Linked DNA regions of Homo sapiens: regions 1, 3, 4 and 5 are each linked to region 2. Evidence: promoter capture Hi-C in 16 types of primary human blood cells and fetal thymus (Javierre and others, 2016). All regions are on one chromosome and are shown on one strand. Each heading gives the region's core, a stretch centred on a gene start or on the middle of the fragment in contact. The rest is flanking DNA. Distances are from core to core; before and after follow the strand shown.

Region 1 (2,700 bases), core at 80-2,579, 310 kb after region 2:
CAAACTGCCTCAGCAGAAAGGTGGCCTTGGACAAAACTGGTCCAAGAATTTGAAGTGGCAGTACTTGCGGATTGGCTCTGTCCAGCAAGGCCTCAGCTGCTTGTTGCGTCTGCTTTCCCTCCCCTAACAGAAGGGTACCCTGGCTTATTCAGGGGACTCCTTAGTCCACACTGTGTCACCTGCATGCCTTAATCTTTCATTGCTGGGGTGTGGCCTTGGGAGATCCTGGGCCAGCCCCTCCACACATCTCCCTAAGTCAGAGTGGCTGCTGGCCCTGGTAGATTTGACTTGCTCTTGCCTCACTCGACCTCCAAAGTGGGACTGAAGACAGTGGTCAAGAGACTTGAGTTCGGGACAGTAAGCCAGGGGTTAAGGTTCTTTCCTTTTTTTGAAAGCCAAAGACCCAGTTTGCATTGTGCTGCTGCATTCATGGTTAGAAGCTTTCCATGCCTAGGTTCTAGGGAATTTATTTTTCTATGTGTATATATTTTCAAACTTTGTTTCCTGGGTACTGGGCATGTGCCTGTCTGAGCCCCAGGTCTGTCTACACCCCACCATTCATTCTGTCTGTCTGTTCCCTGGACACTGCCTAAAAGGGTCTCAAGACAGTGCCCTGTGGGTTCCTAGGACTAGGGCCCATCACTGTTCTCTTCTGCTGGGAAATGCAGCTTTAAAATGGCTAACCACAGCAGAGGGCAGATGCTTGATAGATTATCTTTTCCTTGCTTTCTTGTTTCTGTTTTGAAAGTGAAATGGGGTTTTAAATTGTTATTTAAACTCTTTTTCCAAATAAAGGTTTACCTTTTTTCCCCCCAATGTTGTTCATTTTATTAGGATCCTGAAGGGATTAGGTCCTTGAGAGAGGGCCTGAAGAATGAGGTGGGCAGAGGAAGAGACTAAGGAGCTTTTGATCTTGGGGTGGGGTCTCAAGACATGAATCTAGATTGAGAAATGTGTTGTAAGATCTCCCTCTATTAGCTGAGGTAAATTCCCACTGCTGTGAGGCCTGGGAGGAACAGGGCTTGAGTGAAGCCTCCTGCCTTGACACTGCTGGGGTACAGCTTTCTTCTGTCCTTCCCAAGTGAGAGAATGATTCTTTGGACTGCTTTTCATTCTTCCTCCATCTGCTCCCCCCATGCCTCCTCCTAGTATCTTCTGCACTTCAGGAGGGTCTGTGCAAAGTGGGATAAGATGTGTGTTTTCCTGATTAAAGCTATGGCAGCTGCATGAGACATGATGCGGGTGGCACATGCCTCTTGCTGAGCATCTATTTCTGATCTCTTTTGCATTCTGGAGCCAGGGCTGAGCAGTGGGCCATCTGTCGCTGGAAAAATGTCTCTTCCTTCCTAGGCCTACCTCTGTTGGTGCTTTTGTCTTCCAACCTCCCTATGTAGTAAGACCAGCCAAGCCCACATGCCCACTGGGAGCCCTGAAACCAGATCTGGTTTTCTGTCTTACCTGAACAGGTTCCCAGAACCCACACCAGGCCTCTGAATCAGTCTCTGAGAATCTGATTGATTTAAAGCCACTTGGTTGCTTCCATTGCACTACCTGGGTTGCGATCCCCTCAATTGATTTAGTAAAAAGAAAACTTAGCGGCCGGGTGCGGTGGCTCACACCTGTAATCCCAGCACTTTGGGAGGCTGAGGCGGGTGGATCACCTGAGGTCGAGAGTTCCAGACCAGCCTGACCAACATGAAGAAATCCCGTCTCTACTAAAAATACAAAATTAGCCGGGCGTGATGGCGCATGCCTGTAATCCCAGCTACTTGGAGGCTGAGGCAGGAGAATTGCTTGAACCTGGGAAGCGGAGGTTGTGGTGAGCCGAGATCATGCCATTGCACTCCAGCCTGGACAACAAGAGTGAAACTCCATCTCAAAAAAAAAAAAAGAAAAGAAAAGAAAAGAAAGAAAACTCAGCTAGGAATTAGAAACATCATTTGTCCTCTTGGCCTGTTCAGCTGGTGACTGTAGGTAAGTTACTTAACCTCTCTGTATTTCAGTTCACATTCCTTGGTGAAATAGAAATTAAAGTTAATAATCACTTCTACTTGTGAAGAATTTTCAGATCTGAAATTGCTTTGTTTGGGCTTTGGCAAGAAAAAGGTGCTAAGAATTCCAGAGAATTATTGGTAGGAGTTGGGAGTAGATCGTTACCCCAGCCAGGCTGGACAGTTGGGCCCATTGGCTAGGAAGTATTTGAAAGCCCTAAGCTTTGAGGTATATCCCCAAGAACCTCTTCCTGGCAGGGAGGGTTCCTCCTAGTTGCCTCAGTCAGTTAGCATCTCCACAGCACTTCTGTTAAGTTTGCACAGTACTTCCACGTCAGCTAGCAAAGACAGTGGCACTGTGTGGTGGCAGTTTAGGTGGTGTTCAGATTCTACCTTTACACCTGAGGAAACAGAAATCCCAGAGATAGAATTTGAGAATCTCCTTTGGTTTATTTCTTACCACCCCAAGTTTCTCACAAGCCTTTCCAGGATCAGGCAAGACAGGTTATCTTGGAAGGCAGAGGCTGGTGGTGGGGGCCTGGGGCTGGGGGAGCTCAGAGGCAGCTTTTAACTGGAGACCAAGAAGGGAAATGGCCAGTCAGGAGGCTGCTGCTTTTTTTGTTTTGTTTTTCTCTCCAGTTCCTGCCCTGTTGTAGCTACTAACTAGAGGAATGTTCTGGTTGTTTTGTTTTTCCTTTTTAAAATTGAC
Region 2 (2,700 bases), core at 134-2,633:
TATAACATGTGTGCCTGGACAGAAGTGTGAGGTAAAAGCCCAACCAGAGGCTTAAATACAATAAAGTGATAAGGTCACAGAAAGAAAACCTTGAGTAATCCCCGTTAGAATTATAAATACATTACTAGCTTTTCTCCGAAGTCATTTTCTTTTGGCCTGCATATTCAGGGATACCATTCTGGGAGAATGTCTGGGTATCTTAACAGTGGAAAAACCCTGTCTACCTAAATGTCTAATATTCATCTTCCCTTCCACATTCATTCCATTTCTCCAACTTGGCTGAAAATTCGTGTCAAAGATCCTGAACCCCAATTCCATACAATTTCCTATGTTTTAGACCAGTTTGGCTCTATTTTCACCTTTCAAAGGGGAGATGAGCTTAGAGAACTTTCTCCGATCCCCTGCTGCAATTAGTTCACAGTAACAGTGCCCACCTACCCATTCGCACCAGCCCACGTTGCATCTGTGCCAGGCAGCATGTGCACCCTCCAGGCATCCACCAGCCTGCCAGCTCAGCAGGGCAAAACTGGGCAGACCCTAGTACTGTGCTGTGACTGGCATACCACCAGCCTTCCAGGGCAAACGCCCAGGCAATGCATACTGCCAGGACTTGAGCAATAACAGGGAGCCTAGCTCCAGCCTGTGACCTGGGCCGGGATCAGAGCTCCCCCGAACCCACCCACTAACCACTTAACTCCTTACTTGGCACTGCCCACCTTCTCCCCAGAAACACTACCCCCGACACCAAGCCTGGCAAGCTGGCCACTCAGGGGAAACAACCAGCAACGAGGGTGACGGCAGGTCTCTGGAAAAGGCAGCACACCTGTGCCCTGGAGCCAGAACAGGGTACCACCCCCGACCTCAAACCGGAAGCCCAGGACCCTCGCCCAGTTACTAGTTCTGGCGCCCACTCACCTGCCCATTGCTTGGCCCTCAGCTCCCAGCCGGGCTGGACTCCAAGCTCTCTCCCCGCCCAGCCGGCTGGCGGTTGCGCCCAGGGCTAGACCAGGGCCCACCTGCCCCTCACACAAGCCTCCTCCCCACACGCAGCCCCCTCCTCACCCGCGATTCCCTCTCCCACGCCCCTCACAGCAAACCAAAGCCCTGCTCCCACCATTTGGCTCTCCGTCCTCCGAAAGTCCCGGTTTGCCCCTCTTGCCTACTCGCTCCTCTTCCTCTCTCCCCTACTTCCACCTCCTTTCCCCACGCTCCTCGCCCAATCCCTCTCCCGCCGTCATCCCTGCTCCCCTCCTCCCGGACCGAGCCCTCCCTTTCTCACCTAGGGCCGGGGTCGCAGCTCCACGACCGGCCTGTGGGTCAGGTGGCGCATGCGCGAGCACGGCCCCGCGGCACCATGACAACCTCGTCGTCGCTGGGTGTCTCGCTATCCCCACAGCCTCCCGCCCATTTCTCCTCCCCACGCCTCCGCGACGGCTTTCGCCAGCCACGTGACCCGACTCGGATGACCCGGCACCATGGAGACCGCACGCTGTTCTCCTAGAAGGGCCCTTGGAAATGCGCCCTTTCCCCGCCCCCGCCGGAAGACCAGGCCGGCGCGGGGCGGGGCCAGCGCTCAGAGGCCTACGCTCTGTCCGCGGCCGGCGGGCGTCTCTATGGTTGGTTCCTCAGGCCTCGCCGCCATTTTGTACGGGGGCCTTGAGCAATGAGCGGCTTGGGCAAGGTTTCCAGGCGGGGTTCAGAGGAGCCGGGGGTGGGGCCGGCTTGGAGTCGATACAGAGAGAGGAGCGACTCTCGCACTGTCTTGGTGCGTGCCGCCGTGCCGCCGTGCCGCCGTTGGGGGTGGGGGCCGGGGCGAGTCGTGTCCGGCCTGTGCGCGTGCCGGGAGCGACAGTGCCCGGCGTGGGAGAGCGGGCGTGCGGGCGGCCTCAGCCTGGAGTCGCCGTGACAGGGGTGCCAGACCTCCCCGCGTGCTCCTCGCATTTTCTCTACGCCTGTCGCCCTGTTTGTTTTTTGTTCCCGTCCACCCTCGAGACCGTGCTTCACGAGGTCGAGGCGCGATGAGTTATTTTAAGTAGATGATTTCATGACCTTTGATGTTTGACTGACTTTGTCATGTGCTATGGGTTTTATATGGATGCTGTTTCTTGGTGAAGGTTCACGGTGAACACACGTGTGTAACAGCTAAAGAAAAAAAGGGCTTGGGATCAGTTGACGTTCTGATGCCTTGAATCAGTGAAGGTTACTTAGAAAAAGAATTATTTCGCTAGTGAAAAAGAGGACATGGGCGAGTTTAAAGAGTTGACGGGTCGAGGCAGATTCAAGAGCTGAGCTGTCCAGTAAGATGGTCACTAACGACTGGATAAGTTTCTCAGTTGTACTAGCCACATTTCAGGAGCTCAGTGACCTCTTTATTGGACAGTGCAGATTATATATAGCCCATTCCCAGCATCGCAGAAAGTTATATTGGACAGTGCTGATTTAGATAGTGGGGAATTGTTTTATACTGGTCATCCAGGCCTTTGTAAGTGCTGCTAGGTCGTGGTTAATCACGTTAGTCCTCTAGACACAGGTAATTCTAATGTATTACTGGGTATGGGTGTACTTGTTAGTAGTCAGCTTTACCAACAAGTAATATGCCTACACCATGTAAGGCTTTTGTTTTGGGGACAGAGTGAAAGCAATAGTTAACAATTACCAAGTAATTAGGAGCCGGGCCGCTTTATATGCATCCTTTTATGA
Region 3 (2,700 bases), core at 11-2,510, 270 kb after region 2:
CATGATGAACTCAAGGTCAAGTCCTTGTTTGGTCATACCAAGCTGAGAGATAACACTATTTCTGTGGGAAAACTTGATTTACTCTACACCGTGGTCTTTATGAAATATAATGTTGCACAAGGCAGACATTGAATGGAATGGGTCAGTAGTAAACCCATTTACAGCAAAAGTGAGCTTTGGAATGAAGACCCAGGCTGGCATTTTGTTGGTGCTCTTACATTGATAATTGGGCCTGGTCACTTTTCCTGGGCCCAGGGGCTGGTGCCTTTGCTTCCTGAACAGCAAAGAGTATATAGACTTCTATTTTTTTCTCCTCAAAGTCTCTGCAAGGAGCATAGACTTCCAAGGCCCAGGTTGCTAGTAGCCTCCTACCAGGAGCTAAATAAATCATCTGGCAGCCAAGCAGAGCCCAGGGCAGTGTGGCATAAGGGCATAAAGTGTGGGTTTAGGCTCCATAGGAGGGGCCCTCTGAATCTTGGGCCTACCACTCTGCCAACCCTCCACCTCCTCCAGGTTTCATGAGCTCCCACTAGCATGCTCACCACCAGGGCTATAGCAATAGCCTTGGTACCCCTGGGGCCCAGGCCGTGGTGGTTGAGGTTCACGTAGGACTCCTCCATGTTCCGAATGAAGTAGGAGACAGGCACTACACCCATCAGCTTGCAGGCCTCCAGGTACAGCTCCTTTTGTCCAGTGGTGAAAAATTTCTCATCATCTGCAGAGAAAGATGGGCTGAAGTAGGATTTCTCTTCCACCTTTGCCTTCTCTCCCCTCTAGCCCCAGTGACATTCACTCATGTCTAGACTGTCCTCTGCCAGAGGATCTCTCCCTGTGGGTATGTGCTAAGAAGCCTGCTCCTGTCTGGGAAGTCAGTCCATGGTGGGAGAGGGAGACTCTAACTCCAGAAAGTCCCAGATGAATGTTTCCCTTTGGGTAGGAGATGAGGCCCATGGTTTTAGGCCAGAAGCTTTCCTAGAAGTGAGCAGTGGGCTTCACCCCACCTGCCCAGGTTGGCCACATCCAGTGACTGGTCATCAAGGACATAGAAGGCCCAAGCCCTCTTGCCCACCTTTGGACAATTCTGAAAGGCCAAACGCGGATGACTTTTGATGGTTGATGGAATCTTCATTTCACTTTTAGTTTCACCGCCACTATCACAAGGTTGTGAGTCATGAAAAAAGCTTCACCAAAGACTTAGAGAGGCACCAACATTTAAAAAGCCCAACTAGGACAGAGTGGACTTCTCAAAATGGCAAACCAGTGAATATGGAAAGACCTCCACATCAGCGAGAAACAAGCATGCTTGCATGTGAATGGTCTTTCTTCTTTCAAAAGCTTGCATGTCATTTTCCTTATAAAAAGGACTGTCATCCTTGCTTTATTGACGACAAACCTAGCCTCAAATAACACACAGTTGGTCAATGCTAAAACCAGCTAACAGAAGTGGGGACTGCACCTTTCCATTCTAACCCCTGGGGGCCTTTATTTCTTAGGCTTTAGGCCAGCCTGGCCCATGGTCACTGGGCATCGGGCCTCCCTGGATTCTGGGTGCCCCACAGCTGTGTCCTCATTAGGCAAGTCCAGCCTATGGCAGGGCTTCCTGAGGCCAGCTGGCGTCTATGTCTGCATCTGTTTTTCCTTCAGATCCCAGGGCCTTTGGCCAACCCCCTCCCCCTCCAAACAATCTAAGGCTGACAATGGGAGCTTTGTTGGTGAAAGGACAAGTGCTTTACAGGGAAGCTGATTTTGCAAGCACAACTACAAATTAGACTTCTCTTTGGGACGCTTGTACAGCAGCGCTTCTCAGCCTCAGCACTGCAGGTATTTTGGGCTGGATAATTCTGTTCTGAGGGCTGTCCTATACATAGTAGGGTGTTTAGTAGGATCTCTGGCGTGGACCCACAAGATGCCAGTAGCAACCCCCCTCCCCTAGTTTGCCCAATGTCCCCTTGGTGCAAAATTGCTTCCAGGTGAGAACCACTGTTGTGGAGAAAAACAGCTCATGGCAAGTGAGCAAACCAGGCTCGTCTCCCCCTTTTCTCTAGACTCACAGCCAGCACTGCTCCCAGCTGGCCCATTTCCCATGCCCTCCCTGCCCATTCCCAGTGTCTCAGCACCCACAGCAGGAGCACCAGGAGCCAGGGCTGCTGAGCCCCGAGTTACCATTCAGGACAGAGTTTTTGGTGCCACATTCAGCCATTAGAGGTTCCTGTTGGCAAAAGCAGGGAAGGTAACCCCCAGGTTTTGTCCCTGGGACTAATTCTGCTGGGTTTGATGCTGACCCTTTCTAGCTGTGTTCCCTATTGTTATATTTTATGGGCAGCTTGCGACAGTGTTAGCACTTGCTGCAGTCAGGGGAAGAGATGGGGGAATGAGATAGAAACAGGACCCTTTGGCCAAACATCCAGTGTTGTCCTTTGCTACCTTCTCCAACCATGTGAATGAAGTTGGGTGTTAGAAGCAACGTTAACAACAGACTTGAAGTGGACAAGAAGCCAGAAAAAGAGCAACAAGCTGCCTGGGGGTCAGCGGGGAGGAGGTCTGCGTAGAAGGGTGAAGATGTATGTTGTATGTTGACCATGGTGGGGAGGTTTATAAACTGACTCTATGCAGATGAACTTCACAGTTTAATTTGGCAGAACTGGCCTTCCTCCATCTCTGCTGCCTGTGAATCACTGCCCACCAGCCAGCTGCAAGGAT
Region 4 (2,700 bases), core at 14-2,513, 380 kb after region 2:
CTTTTATGCCTAAGGGAGCCTAGCTCCTAGTATCCCATGTGGCTCTTTCTCTCATTTCTTATTCCCAATGAGCATGTGTTGCTTTCCTAAAGGCATTTCCATAACATTATACTTTTAAAGTCAACTGTGTGTGAGTATAAATGCTATTGGACATCAGGGGAGAACTCGGAAAAAAAAAATGTTCATTTTTATTGATAAACTTTTTAACTAAGGCAATTTTCAAAGAAAGCTAAAATCATGACATTCCTACAAACATAAAATGGACATGTTAAAATTGTATTTAGTGCATCATTAATGAAGGCTGGTAAGATGTGACAACCGGTTCAAATGAGAAGTCAAAAGAGGCACAAATTTATATGGAGAAAAGCAATGTTGAAGTGTATTTACGAATAGAAGGAAATATATTTACGAATAGAAGGAAACATATTTCAAATAGAAGGAAACTGGCTTTCCTTTGGAAAATAGGAAGTAAATTGAACCACCTCGGGACAGAATGTATTTGCATGCCTGCAAACAGGAATTATTTACATTGCTATCAGTTATCTACAATTTACAGATTTGAAAAATAGCTCAAAGGCAATGAATGGCCCAGAGACCCTAAAGCATCGCACTCAGATAACCTGGAAGGGTATGCTCTAAAGGATACACAGTTTCCCAATGAAGCACACATTTTTTCCTACGTGACATTTATTAAGCAGTTAATACTTGCAGGCAGTGATCCAATCCATGGGGACTGATAGTCTGCTTGGAGATTTAAGACACAAAAGAGCTGAGCCGTCTCCCTCCAGCAGTCTGATTAGTGGAGTGTTTATTATACTTCCTCTCAGTGACATAAAGATACTCCAAATTGAGTTCCATCATCAAGCTTTCCTCTTGAGAAAAACAAAAGTTTCCACTGCTTTCAAAAGTTTGAAAGCCACCAACCCATGTCCAGCAGGTTCATTTTATAGAAGAGAAAATGAAGGCTCAGAGAGGAAATGTGGTCTGCCCTGGGGCGCGCAGCTTGTTAACTCATGTCTGGTCGGAAGATGGGCTTTCAGGGCCGAGAAGGTGCTCCTTTTTGGCATTATTAGGTGACAGAAAGAGCTCCTGGAAGGGAGGATTTAGGAAGCAGGCTGTGACAGATGGTTTTCATCTCCTGTGCTCTGGGAAATCGCTACCACCCTCTAATTGGATGTTGGGAGCTTCAAGCAAACTGGCAATCTACATTGTATCATTGTTCCGTATCCCTAATTATCCCTTGGGATTTGGCTTAAGTGCAGCTTAGAGGATGTTCATTAATAGTGTCGACAGGGACACTCAGCATTTGTAAAATTCTTTACAATAATTGAAGACCTAGCATTGTTCTGGTGTGGTAAGGAAGCATGTTTGCTCCCAGCCGAAAGATGACTTAAGCTAAGAGGGTGGAGACTGGCTGACTTGGGAGTTGTTTTTCTAACGTCCAGGTCTGAACTCACAGTTCTACAATCCTTGTTTTCACCGGCTCAAGGAAGCTCCTTGATGAATTACATGAGTTCAGCTTACTAATGGGCTTACTTCACCAGAGTCAGAGTGATCTGTCCTTGGCATTTCATAACCCACTTCAGTTTCCTATCTCTTGGCCACCGTATTGTCAAAAACCTCATATTCCTGTGGCCATGACCAGTTCCAAAAGAAGCTTTGTCTCCACAGACAGATCGTGGTTCCATCTGGGCCTACCACCAAAAGCCTTGTGATTCCAGATGGAAAAATCCCCACACCCCCCCCCGTTTCCAAAGCAGCCCCCCATCTCGATTGTTTTATCTACAGTCAGCAGCACGAATCCTCCACAATCAGAGTCTCTCCGGGGGTGGAAAGAGTGGCTAATGGGGGATACAGCTCATCTTCAAACCCTGTGCCATGTGAATGGAAAAAAAAAATGCACACATCTGGCTGGGTTAGATAAAGAGGAGGGCTGGGGCAAAGAAGCCGGGAGTGGTGGTGGGGGCTTCCCTCTATCAAAGAAAACATTAAGAAAAAGGCTGCTTTTATTGCAGAGGAAAATTAAAACTTTACATTGTGACTGGAGCTGTTCAACCATCTACATTTGGCTGGGCACGATGGCTCACGCCTGTAATCCCAGCACTTTGGGAGGTCGAGGCGGACGGATCACCTGAGGTCAGGAGTTTGAGACCAACCTGGCCAACATGGTGCAACCCCATCTCTACTAAAAGTCCAAAAATTAGCTGGTCATGGTGGCAGGCGCCTGTAATCCCAGCTACTCAGGAGGCTGAGGCAGGAGAATCGCTTGAACCCGGGAAGTGGAGGTTGCAGTAGCCAAGATCGTGCCATTGCACTCCAGCCTGGGCAACAAGAGCGAGACTGTCTCAAAAAAAAAAAAAAAAAAATCTACATTTTTGTTGTTGTTGTTTTCAAAAGATATCCTTGAGGAACCCCAAGTATTTGGCTGGAATCCTTTGGTGACAGCCAGTTTCCTTCCAGGAGGTTGGAACAGAGCTGCATGTGTGTACATGTGTTTGGGGGGATACAAGGAATTGAGTGGTTTTCTTTCAATCATAGCCTCACCCTCCTGCCATTTGAGGAAGACGGAGGGAGAAGGACAGGATGGGAGGAGATAATTTCTGAAAAAAATTTTTTTTTTTTTTTGAGTTTCACTCTTGTTGCCCAGGCTGGAGTGCAATGGCGTGATCTTGGCTCACTGGAACCTCTGCCTCCCGGGTT
Region 5 (2,700 bases), core at 163-2,662, 450 kb before region 2:
CTCCACTCTACAGTTATGTAATACTTTATTGTAAGATTGATTTGGCTTGCATCGAATAAAGTGGCACATCTGATTTTGGTTGGTTTAAGACTGTTTTCTTTCTTTCTTTTTTTTTTTTTCTGGTTTTTGTTTTTGAGACAGAGTCTTGCTCTGTCTCCCGGGCTGGAGTGTAGTGGTGCGATCTCAGCTCACAGCAACCTCCGCTTCCCAGGTTCACATGATTCTCCTGTTTCAGCCTCCCAAGTAGCTGGGACCACAGGAGTCTGCCACCACACCTGGCCATTTTTTTTGTATTTTTTGTAGAGATGGGGTTTCACCATGTTGCCCAGGTTGGTCTTGAACCCCTGGGCTCAAGCAGTCTGCCTGCCTTGGCCTTCCAACGTGCTGGAATTACAGCTGTGAGCCACCACACCCAGCTGACTGTTTTCTTTTCTTTTCTTTTCCTTTCCTTTTCTTTCTTTTGAGATGGAGTTTTGCTCTTGTTGCTCAGGCTGGAGTGCAATGGCATGATCTTGGCTCACCACAATCTCTGCCTCCCAGGTTCAAGCGATTCTCCTGCCTCAGCCTTCCCGAGTAGCTGGGATTACAGGCATGCGCCACCACACCCGGCTAATTTTGTATGTTTAGTAGAGACCGGGTTTCTCCGTGTTGGTCAGGCTGGTCTCGAACTCCCGACCTCAGGTGACCTGCCTGCCTTGACTTCCCAAAATGCTGGGATTACAGGCGTAAGCCACCGCGCCCAGTCGACTGTTTTCTTAAATCAGAATTTTACCTTAACATTTTTTCTGATCTGTGCTAGATCCTTGTTATCTCTAATGAGAGATTTTTGGAAATAGTGAAATGTGATCATTTTCAGTTTTGTGAATTAATTCCTTGAAGAAGTTGTTTTATTAATGTTGCAAACACATAGTGGAGCCTGTGAATAGCTCCCTGTTAATAACAGCTATATCTCCTCTCCTTCTGATGTGGTGTTAGTGGAAACTGTGTGTGAATCTGAGAGACAGACATATATACACACATATATATACATACAGCTAGCATTTCTCTAGGTACTTCACATAGGCACACTTACCTTACTGATTCAGCACACAGGTTTAGGTGACTAAGAAATGGCTAAGAGCTATCAAAGTTAACATTGGATAATTTATTTGCCCTGTTCCAGAACATGGATCTGTGTGACACATTACCCCCAGATAAATGACTTATCTGTACTAAATGATGAAATCTGGGCTGTGCTAGTAGTGAGAAAATGAAACATGGTAATTATATATAGGCTTTGGATCAGCACAAGTTTTCTAGTTTTTGCCTCTAGCCACCCCCAAAGCTTAGTGATGTGACACAACAGCCATCTGATTATGCTCACAGATGCCACAGGTCAAGAATTCGGTCAGGGCACAGCAGGGATGACTTGTCTTTGCTCTGTTGTCTGGGGCTGGCCTGGAAGACTCAAGTGTCTGGAAAGACTGAGATGGTTGGTGGTTGGGATCATCTGGAAGCTTTTCCACTCACATGTCACCTGGGCTGGAGTGACTTGGAGCCAGGCTCAGCTGAGGCTGTTGACCAGAGCACCTTCATGCATGTATCTTTTCAATGTGGCTTAGGCTCCTCATGACATCGTGACTGTGTACCCAGAAAGGATGCTTCAGAGAGCAAGCATTCCAAAGAACCTGGCGGAAACCCCATGACCTTTTCTGACCTGTTGTTAACAAGCAGGTCACTAAGGCCATCCCGGATTGAAGGGGTGGGGAACTAGATTCCACCTCCCCAGTGGAGGCATGTCAAAGAATTTGTGGCTGGTTTTTTTTTTTTTGAGATGCAGTCTCAAGGAGAAGTACCATGCTTTTTTAAACAACCAGATCTTGGGAGAACTCAGAGCGAGAACTCACTCATTACCCAAGGATGGCAGCAAGCCATTCACGAGGATCCTCCCCATGATCCACACACCTCCCACCAGGCCCTACCTCCGTCATTGGGGATCACATTCCATCCTGAGATGGACAAACATCCAAACCATGTCAGTGAATATATTACATTTATCATTAAAACTTTGTTATTGTTGGATTCCAGAGTACATTAAGTACCTGGTATTGAAAGTAAGGCTTAAACATGTATATGTGGTTGCTTATTGTTAAATGTTTTCATCTTTTTGTGTGAAGAAATGTTGCTCTTTGGTGAGAGTACAGAGCCTTCAGAAAAGCTGCAGCATGTAAGGGAAGGTGAGATCCAGTTTCCACACGACTTTGTGAGCGCTCCTTTCCCCTTCCTCCCAACTTTTTCCGCATTTCCCCTCCAGTTTCTATCCTTTTCCCAAGGAAGAACAGGACATATGACTAGGTTGACAGATCTTGAAAGGCAACTTCACTAGGATCTCAGGTGAGATAATAATGAATGGGAATTGTGCTGCCAGGATGCCTGTACCTGGAGTGGGAATACTGAGCACAGGCCAGGGAGTAGAAAAAATGAGGCCTAGGAAATTCTGTTAAATTCCACTAGACATTTGAAATTCTAACTTTTACTTTACACATCACTAATCCGTGTCCACTAATGGAAATTTAGCTGTAGTATCTACATACGAATCAAGGCAAAGTGTTTGACCAAATCAACTAAAATTTTGCTTTTCCATTTTCCAGAGCTGTGCTTTGATGTATTTTATTTCTGTCCAAAGGTGTAGTTAATAATAACATGCATAGCACCCAGCTT

What was found. The method cuts DNA at HindIII sites, captures the fragments that hold promoters and counts their contacts. A CHiCAGO score of 5 or more calls a contact.
Region 1: a contact is called between a fragment that was not itself captured here and the fragment with the promoter of CIPC in region 2, in 3 of 17 cell types (naive CD8 T cells, total CD8 T cells and naive CD4 T cells). The highest score is 6.5, in naive CD8 T cells.
Region 3: a contact is called between a fragment that was not itself captured here and the fragment with the promoter of CIPC in region 2, in 11 of 17 cell types (activated CD4 T cells, total CD8 T cells, non-activated CD4 T cells and 8 more). The highest score is 10.1, in activated CD4 T cells.
Region 4: a fragment that was not itself captured here is called in contact with the fragment with the promoter of CIPC in region 2 in 10 of 17 cell types (naive CD4 T cells, naive CD8 T cells, fetal thymus and 7 more); the score reaches 9.1 in naive CD4 T cells.
Region 5: a fragment that was not itself captured here is called in contact with the fragment with the promoter of CIPC in region 2 in 2 of 17 cell types (naive B cells and total B cells); the score reaches 7.8 in naive B cells.

What each region holds. Positions count from the first base shown.
Region 1 is chr14:76,785,359-76,788,058 of GRCh38, reverse strand. It overlaps ANGEL1 (angel homolog 1), which reads left to right. Exons shown (of 10, transcript NM_015305.4): 10 at 1-2,050. It overlaps VASH1-AS1 (VASH1 antisense RNA 1), which reads left to right and starts at 1,335. Exons shown (of 2, transcript NR_104184.1): 1 at 1,335-1,974. The HindIII fragment of the contact is 1,773 bases long and covers 443-2,215 here.
Region 2 is chr14:77,096,941-77,099,640 of GRCh38, reverse strand. It overlaps CIPC (CLOCK interacting pacemaker), which reads right to left and starts at 1,383. Exons shown (of 4, transcript NM_033426.3): 1 at 1,280-1,383. LOC124903350 (a long non-coding RNA gene) reads left to right here and starts at 1,623. Exons shown (of 2, transcript XR_007064275.1): 1 at 1,623-1,765. RefSeq lists enhancers at 613-772, 912-1,741, 2,103-2,152 and a silencer at 1,773-1,922. The HindIII fragment of the contact is 10,027 bases long and covers 1-2,700 here.
Region 3 is chr14:76,829,218-76,831,917 of GRCh38, reverse strand. It overlaps LRRC74A (leucine rich repeat containing 74A), which reads right to left. Exons shown (of 14, transcript NM_001385106.1): 3 at 543-715. Among named protein-coding and RNA genes, the nearest start is that of LRRC74A, 4.2 kb to the right of the region's middle. The HindIII fragment of the contact is 154 bases long and covers 1,184-1,337 here.
Region 4 is chr14:76,714,415-76,717,114 of GRCh38, reverse strand. All of the region lies in intron 1 of LOC105370577 (a long non-coding RNA gene), which reads left to right. Among named protein-coding and RNA genes, the nearest start is that of VASH1, 46 kb to the left of the region's middle. The HindIII fragment of the contact is 792 bases long and covers 868-1,659 here.
Region 5 is chr14:77,548,338-77,551,037 of GRCh38, reverse strand. The region is part of intron 9 of SPTLC2 (serine palmitoyltransferase long chain base subunit 2); the gene reads left to right. Among named protein-coding and RNA genes, the nearest start is that of ISM2, 51 kb to the right of the region's middle. The HindIII fragment of the contact is 172 bases long and covers 1,327-1,498 here.